Regions from separate parts of the Homo sapiens genome. Here region 2 is linked to region 1. The links are contacts of gene promoters, found by promoter capture Hi-C in blood cells and fetal thymus (Javierre and others, 2016). All regions are on one chromosome and are shown on one strand. The core of a region is centred on a gene start or on the middle of the fragment in contact, and the rest is flanking DNA. Distances in the headings are between cores, read along the strand shown. Region 1 holds the start of KRT33A (keratin 33A). Region 2 has its middle 7.7 kb from the start of KRT19.

The links. Contacts are between HindIII fragments. The CHiCAGO score rates a contact against its expected background, and 5 or more counts as called.
Region 2: a contact is called between a fragment that was not itself captured here and the fragment with the promoter of KRT33A in region 1, in 1 of 17 cell types (naive CD4 T cells). The highest score is 5.2, in naive CD4 T cells.

What each region holds. Positions count from the first base shown.
Region 1 is chr17:41,348,722-41,352,620 of GRCh38, forward strand. KRT33A (keratin 33A) reads right to left here and starts at 2,107. Exons shown (of 7, transcript NM_004138.4): 1 at 1,699-2,107; 2 at 625-707. The coding sequence starts at 2,046. LOC105371778 (a long non-coding RNA gene) reads left to right here and starts at 2,776. Exons shown (of 2, transcript XR_001753056.1): 1 at 2,776-2,882; 2 at 3,701-3,899. The HindIII fragment of the contact is 4,412 bases long and covers 1-3,521 here.
Region 2 is chr17:41,534,039-41,537,937 of GRCh38, forward strand. No RefSeq gene overlaps it. Among named protein-coding and RNA genes, the nearest start is that of KRT19, 7.7 kb to the left of the region's middle. The HindIII fragment of the contact is 2,229 bases long and covers 520-2,748 here.

The DNA of each region.
Region 1 (3,899 bases), core at 857-3,356:
CTAGGAATTAGGGTTTGTAGTTTTTATAGCCATCTCTTTTGTTTAGGTTTTCAGCATCGAGCTGGAAGAAAATGCACTGGTAATTTTACGTTTAAAGATCCAGTGGATAGACTTCTATATTCCTAGCTATTCAGGAGGCTAAGGGGAGAGGGTTGCTTGAGCCCAGGAGTCTGAGGATCTGAAGTTACACTGAGCTATGATTGCACCACTGCCCTCCAGCCTGGGTGACAGAGCAAGGCCCTGTCTCTAAAAAAAAGAAGAAAGCCAGTGGATTTAGGATAAAAGCTGACAAACTGTAAGACTTCCAAAATAATATGCTTCCACATTCTCCATTCTCATGAATGGGTTCTGTGCATAGGAGAACATCGGGGGCCAACACGTCTACACTAACTCACAGTACGACTAGGGGTGTCACGTCACAGAGGAGAAGAAGGAGGAAAGGAAGTCTAAGGCCTGGGGAAAGGATCTCTGAGCTACGGTGTGTGGTGGCTCTGTGAATCTTGGAGAAAGCAGCTAGAACATAGCTCAGTCACTGTTTGTTTAACTTGTGTTGACAACAGGCTAAAGGAAAGGAGGGCTGCCAGAGAAGAGAAATAAACAGCAACACCCCGCTTGCCCACTCACTTGGTCCTGAAGTCATCTGAGGCCAGCTTGGCATTGTCGATCTGCACCACAAGCCTGGCATTCTCAGACTTGCTGCACAGGATCTAGAAGGCCCAAAACATTCAAGAATGAGCAAGGACTTGGTAATTTTTCACCAATGGCAGTCCTTCCTAATTCACTTCCTTGGAAGGATCAGGATGTCTATCTTATTAAATGCTTTCTATATACAGCAGGTACTCAATGAATATTTCCAAAATTATATTCAAAAAAAGAACACCAAAATATGCAAAAAGTATAAGTAGATAATCTTTTTTCTATCCTAATGAGCAATACTGAGAAGCTGATCATAATAGTTGACATTTATGAAAAACACCTACTATGTTTCTGGCATGATACTAGGAGCTGAGGATACAAAAATTGGTAAGCACTTGATCCTGCCCTCAAGAAACTTTCAATCAAGCAGAAAAGACAAATAGGTAAACTAGCAATTGCAGGGGACTGGATCAGGGAAGAAGCCACATGTTCCCAGATGTCCCAGACAACTGGGACTACTTTGTCCTAGGTAATTTCCAATCTTCCCAATTTGGGCCAAACATTTTAGGCTCTCACTGGACACTGTGCACCAGGAGAAGCCCAGAGGCATGAAGGTGAGGACAATGAAATCAGGATAAGTAGGAACCTAGAAGAGAGAGGCAGCCAGCAGTCCAAGGGGCAAAAAGCTCAGATGAGGGAGAAAGAAAATGGCCCAGTCTTTACAAAAGATTCCGTTTCCCCAGCTTCCTTTGGACTCAGTCCTTTTCTCTCACCTCAGGGTAATAATTCTGGAGCTTGGCAGGTGCATGGAAGCATTCAGAGGTAGTTTTTAATTACAGCTCATTTATGCAAAGTGCTGCTACCTCCACATAGACTAACACTATGCAAATATTTAGACCTAACAGTCCCAAGTCTAGTATTAGATGGGCCCTCAAAAAACAAAATGGAAAGGCCAGTTTTCAGCTTTTCATTCACATCAAGAGCTTACGTTGTTTCTCAATCACAACTCGGATTCTCTCCCGACAACTTCCTACTGGAGGCACTGTGTCGCCCACTCCTCACCTTCTGCTGGAGCTCCTCAATGGTCTTGAAGTAGGACTGGTAGCTGGCACACACCAAGGGCTCCTGCTGCTGTGACCGCTCCCGGATGAGGTTCTCCAGCTCCGCGTTGTCCCGCTCCAGCTGACGCACCTTCTCCAGGTAGCTGGCCAGGCGGTCGTTCAGGAACTGCATGGTCTCCTTCTCACTGCCATTGAAGGAGCCCTCACAGAACCAGTTGCAGTTGCTCACATTGGCGGGGATGTTGCAGGCCCCGGGCAGGGTGCAGCCGTGGCAGCTGGGGGGCACACAGGGCCGGGAGGAGCAGCTGGTGCGGCAGCTCAGGCTGGGCAGGCCACAACTGTAAGACATGGTGCAGGGAGGGAGTGTCCAGCTGAAGACAGAGTCCAAAATCTCCAGGTTGTAGAGCGGTGGGTCTCCTTCCTCCAGGGAGCATTTATACCTCGTCCATGGAGGGTGTGGACACGTAAGACAACCCCTTTTTTTTTTTTTTTTTTTTGCTCATTTGGTGATTGTCAAAAGCCCTTCCCTCCATTTGTTGTGTTTCTTCAGAAGAGTCTCTCCCCTCATAAAATACTTTACTTGGGCTTCTCGCTAAGTCGGGACTCCTCTTCCATGCTGTGTGTCATGATGTAAGAGCTTCATGGTGTGACTTCAAAGACCTGGACTCATGAAAGCCCTGGCCTTCTTCAGTGGGGTGCAGCAGGTCAAGAGACAGTATTGCTGTTCTGCTTTGTGGCTTGAGGCCCCTAACTCTTTGGCAAGCTCTGGCTCTCCTTGGTGAAATGGAAAAGCATAGCTCTTGCCCTGTGTCTTTTGCTAGGTCACATTTCCAAGTGCCAAATTCCAAATTCATGGTTCTCAGAAAGAGGAATAGATCCTTTCTGGGACAGTTCCTGATGGCCATGTTTCCTGATATGATGGGCTTTTTTCATGTCCATGATGACGTCAATCAACCAAATAATAGATATCCACTATGACAATTTCATCCAGGGCGATGTAATAGACACTGGGAGGGGTGGAAAATAGGACTCAATGCTATGGTCAGAAGAAGTTCTTACTTGTTAAGAAACTGCACAAGCCCAAGGTAGTGTGGACACTTTTCACAAACTAGATCCTTTTTACAAACATGATCCTCAAACATGCAGAACTTAGATGTCCATTATTCCTCACCAGAACTCTTAAAGGTAAACTGTATAATTCCCATTTTATAGATGAGAACACCAAGGCATAGAGGGTGAGGATAATAAGTTGTGGACCTAGGATTCCAAAGCAGATCACTTTTCTTTTCATCACAACACTTGGCTTAAATATAAATGGCTTACTTCCTTCCCTTCTTCAGACAGGCCGTCCCTTTCTCCTCTCCAAGCTCTCTTTTTACCTTGAGCATGACACTGTCATGACTTATGTGCTTGTCTCTCTGTCTCTATTTGAGGTCCCTGAAGGCAAGGGCAGGGTCTAGTTTGTCTTTGAATCCCCAGCTCTAGGCACCTGGTAGGCACTGTTGAATGGGTGTGGGTAGAGTGATGAAGGGATGAACAGGAAATAATAATCTGAGGCAGAAGTTGACAAGTGATAACTGAGTGGTTTACACACTGGGGAGGGCGAGCAGCTCCAGGATTGGAGGCTCTTAGGAATGGATGAATGGATTTGTGCTGGGATAGGGAGGCTTCTAAGAAGCAGAGGGGAGAAAAGTAGGAAGTGCAGGTGAGGAGAATAATGTGCACACAGGAATGGGGTGGGAAAGCCCAAGGCATGGTTGAAGGACCAGGGTAAGTCTAGGCAGCAGGAAGGGGAGAGTTGTGAAGGGAAGTGCTAGAAATTAAAGCTTTATGGGGGATTGTATGGGGACCCTATGGTAGGGGGTCTCGATGGTGAAGTGGAGCAGCTTGGACTTCCCCAGAAGCTGTAGAGCCAGTATAAGCTTTTGAACCTAAGTGTGGTGTGACAAAAGGTGTTTTAGGAAATGTTTTAGCAAATATTTATCTGTTTTTGAAAAATGAAGGAAAGATTGGAGGCAAAGAGTTCAGCAAAGAGACTATTGCAACAGTCCATGCAAGACTAGAATTTATGGCAGGGATGATGATACAGATAAGGTTTAGTACAAGTGAGAGAGTTAGAGAACTGGGCCAAGGGAGAGTACAAAGAGAAGAGCAACAAGGAGCTGAGGACCAAACTTTGGAGAATTTCCCAATCAGAGATCA
Region 2 (3,899 bases), core at 384-2,883, 180 kb after region 1:
GACAATGAATAGTGACACTGAAAACCCTAAAGAACTAGTTATTGGGCCGGACATGGTGGCTCACGCCTGTAATCCCAGCACTTTGGGAGGCCAAGGTGGGTGGATCACCTGAGGTCAGGAGTTCGAGACCACCCTGGCCAACATGGTGAAACCCCGTCTCCACTAAAAGTACAAAAATTAGCCAGTCGTGGCGGCGGGTGCCTGTAATCTCAGCTACTCGGGAGGCTAAGGCAGGAGAATTGCTTGAACCCGGGAGGCAGAGCTTGCAGTGAGCTGAGATCGAGCCATTACACTCCAGCCTGGGTGACAAGAGTGAAACTCCATCTCAAAAGAAAAAAAAAAAAAAACTAGTTGTTGGGTACAGTAAATCTAGTTGGAGAGCAACACACTTAATATGATAAATTCATGTCAACATACATTCAAAAGATGACTTATTGCTAAGGTCCATATGAATATGTATGAATATATGCATAGGTAAGGAAGGAATCTGATTGAAGGATGGTAGCCAATAGGAACCTAAGCTTAATCTCTATGGTTTTAAGTTTTATAAGAATGTATTTAGTATTTCTTGTTAATTAAAGTAAATAATTTCTTAAGTAACACTAAACCACAGACATTTAGAACTAGCCAAATTTCATATAGTCAATACCCTCTTCCCCTCCCTGCACTCACCACTGACATCATTGTCTCTGCTCATCCACACCAACCCTAGCCTTGAATTGAGAAATGAGAGAGGAAGTTTTGGAAGAGGGAGAACTAGATGTGAGGAGAAAAGAGACCCTGGAAAGGGTTTCCATCCTCGTGCCCCCACCCCTGGGTCCGCCAGGCTAGTTTTACTTCTTTATGAAACAAGAAGGCAAAACGGACAAGAAGAACTTTGGAAGAGTCTGAGTACAGGGAGAGCTCCTTGCAGCCGATGACTTACACCTGAGGAAAGCCCTCCCACTCTGGTTCTCCAAGGATCCATCGTCTGGAAGCATCTGAAGTTGGCCCCCCTGGGTGTTCTCACAACAGACAACAAGGCTCTCCCAGGTGGTGGCGTGGATCTGTGGGGCTACAGCTGGTGGCAGAGCAGAGGGTATTCTATGCAAGACAGCAGCCACCTTGTGGGCACATGCGAGGCATTCCCCTGGGGACTTTCTGAAATAACTGGAAGATCTTTAGGGGGTGCTGGAGTGGGAGCCACCATGTGGGCCATCAGGCTAGAGCTATTGACCCAGTATTGAGGTATGCCTCAAACCAATCAATGTGATCAAGTATGTAGACACTGGGAATTATGTCTGCCTGGGGGCATTGAGAGCTATTTAATTACAGAGGCATGACCCTTGAGCAAGAAGCTGACAGACCAGTAGGTATTTCTCAGGCAGAAGAGTAAAGAGAATGGGGGCCTGGAAGAGATGAGTAACCGGGCCCAGCTTGGGAGACTACTGGCAATTCAATATGGTTGGGCCATGGCAGGAGGGGAGGGAAGGGGGTCGTTGAGGACAAGGTCAGCTGTGGGGGAGCTGTAAGCAAGACAATGGAAAGTCATTTTCATCAGGGATGGGATGTGGGTTTTGTGTGGCAAATGGGTTGATGTGTCAAGGGAAGCAGGGATGACCAGGGATAAAGAACCCAGTTTAGGGTGTTTTAAAATAGTCCATGCTAGAGATGAGAGGGTCTGAATCTAGCCATAGTGGTGGGCTAGAGAGTAAAGGACAGAGACAAGACCTGCTGTTATGACCTGATGACAAATGGGAGTGATGAAAGAGAGGGACCCTGCACAAAGCACTGCTGTGTGCCAGAGATGCTGGCCAAGTCCTGGACGGTCTCAGCTGAGCAAGATCCCTGCCACTACCATCCCCCAGCCCTGGGACCCATGCCGTCTCTTGGGGAGCCTTGCTCTTGCCCAGATGGGGAAGAATCCTATTCACTGTCTTGAAGGGCCCAGCAGCCAGGACAGGGCAGCGCCGGCCATGTCATGAGCAGCCCAAAGCCGCACTCGGGTCAGGAGGCTGATGCTCTCGGGACTTGAGCCTCCGCACAGCCCAGGTCTGGCCATTTCTGCTGCATCTCAATGGCTTCCTGAGACGTGGAAACCCAGGAAAGGGGGAGGGCAGGGCAAGTAAGCTAGGTCAGGATGGCCCCTGGTGTTCCTCTCCAAGTCCTCAGGGGAGGAAAAACCAGCCCGACCAGAACCAGGGCAGATGGTGTGGGTGGGGAGGGACAGCTGAGTCCTGCAAGGAATAGTCCCAGGTCCAGGGGCCAGCTTCCCCGAGGTGCCACATTCCACAGCCTGGGAAGACAGGGGCCTGCCTCCTCCTCACTCCCTCTCCCTGGAGGTGAGTACGTGAGCAGGCTCACGCTCACTCCACACAGGGAGGCCCCCCCACCGATCTTAGCCAGGGGTGTCTCTCTCAGCTTTTGTCCTGCCCTACTCAATTTGGGCCTCATTTGACGCCTCTGCCCCACTTCAAGCTGTGGCCCATTCCATCTGGACTGGGGCAAGGAGAGTGCCAGACACAGGACAGAGAGAAAGAAAATGTCCGGGTGCCTGCCCGGATTCCCAGCACCCAGGAGAGGGCACCTGGGTGCTTCCCTGCTGCCTTCTGGCTGACAAACTTCCCTCCCATCAGGATCCTGGTGGGCTGTGGTGGCGATGCTGCCTCCTTCAAGAACAGACTCTGGGCAGTCCCAGATGAGCAAGACCCCTCCACAGGCAAAATCTTTCCTTTCAAAACCCATCTGATCCCACGACTCCTGAGGGGAAGCTTCAGCTCTGTACTCCCCCTCACCTGGGAAGGTTCCCGTCCAGAAACTCAAATTGTCCTCCTCGGATGCAGGGGTCTTGGACACTGCAAGCATTTTCACTGAACACCCGCTGTATGCTGGAGGCCACCTCCACCCGGCGTTGGCCAGAGCATCCTCCCTGCCTACCTGCCCCCTCCCTTTACCTGGATGGCAGCCATGCCAGCTCCTCTCAGTTCCATTGGCATGGGTTTCTTCTCCCTGATATGTCCACCCTGACCCGCTCAGGCTGGGTCAGCATTCCCACCCCCACCCACTTGCCCAGCACTTACCACAGCTCTGTCTCCCCATCTAGACTTGGAGCTTCTGTATCTAGCCCCAGGGCTGACTCCAGCACTAGTAAACATTTAATGATTATTTGCCAGAACAGAGCCTTCTCCTGAAGCCCTTTTATTTTTTTTCATTTAACACCAATTATGGTCCACCTTCTGTGTGCCAGGCACCTTCTAGACTCTGGGCTTCAAGAGCAGGGCAGTCTAAAGCTGCCTGCCCTCCTGGGGCTTTCATCTGGGGTAGGGGGCAGAGTAGCAAAGCCAGGGAGGGGGTCAGCAGGGAAGGCCATTGAGGGGTGGTCAGGGAAGGCCTCTCTGAGGAGGTGACACATGAACAGAGACCTGAATGAGGCAAAGGAGCCCTCAGATCCCCAGGGAAGATTATTCCAAGCCAAGGGCACAGCAAAGCCAAAATCCCTAAGGAAGAGGGAGCTTGGTCTGTTCAGGCAACACCAAGAAGTCCCAGTGGTTAAGAGGGGTGAGCCAGAATGACAGTGTGCAGGAGATGAGCCCAGGGGAGGCCAGGACAGAGCACTCGGTGTCTGCGGTCTAATGGAGGCGCTGGCTTTTATCTTGAGAGTAATGGTGCTTTGAGCAGAGGAGCACTGGGACGCCCTCCCCACCCCTGGCTGCTCCCTGTGGAATAGACCGTGGGGCCCAAAGAGCTGGAGATCTAATAAGAGGCTCTAATGGAGTTCAGGTGAGAGACACTGGGGGCTTGTTCTGGGGAGACATCAGAGGACTTCAGGAACAGTGGCCTGGTGCAAGGGATATCCCGAGGGCAGAGCCAGCAGGTCAGGCTGACGATTCATGGGGAGGACAAGGGAAGGAGAGAATCTT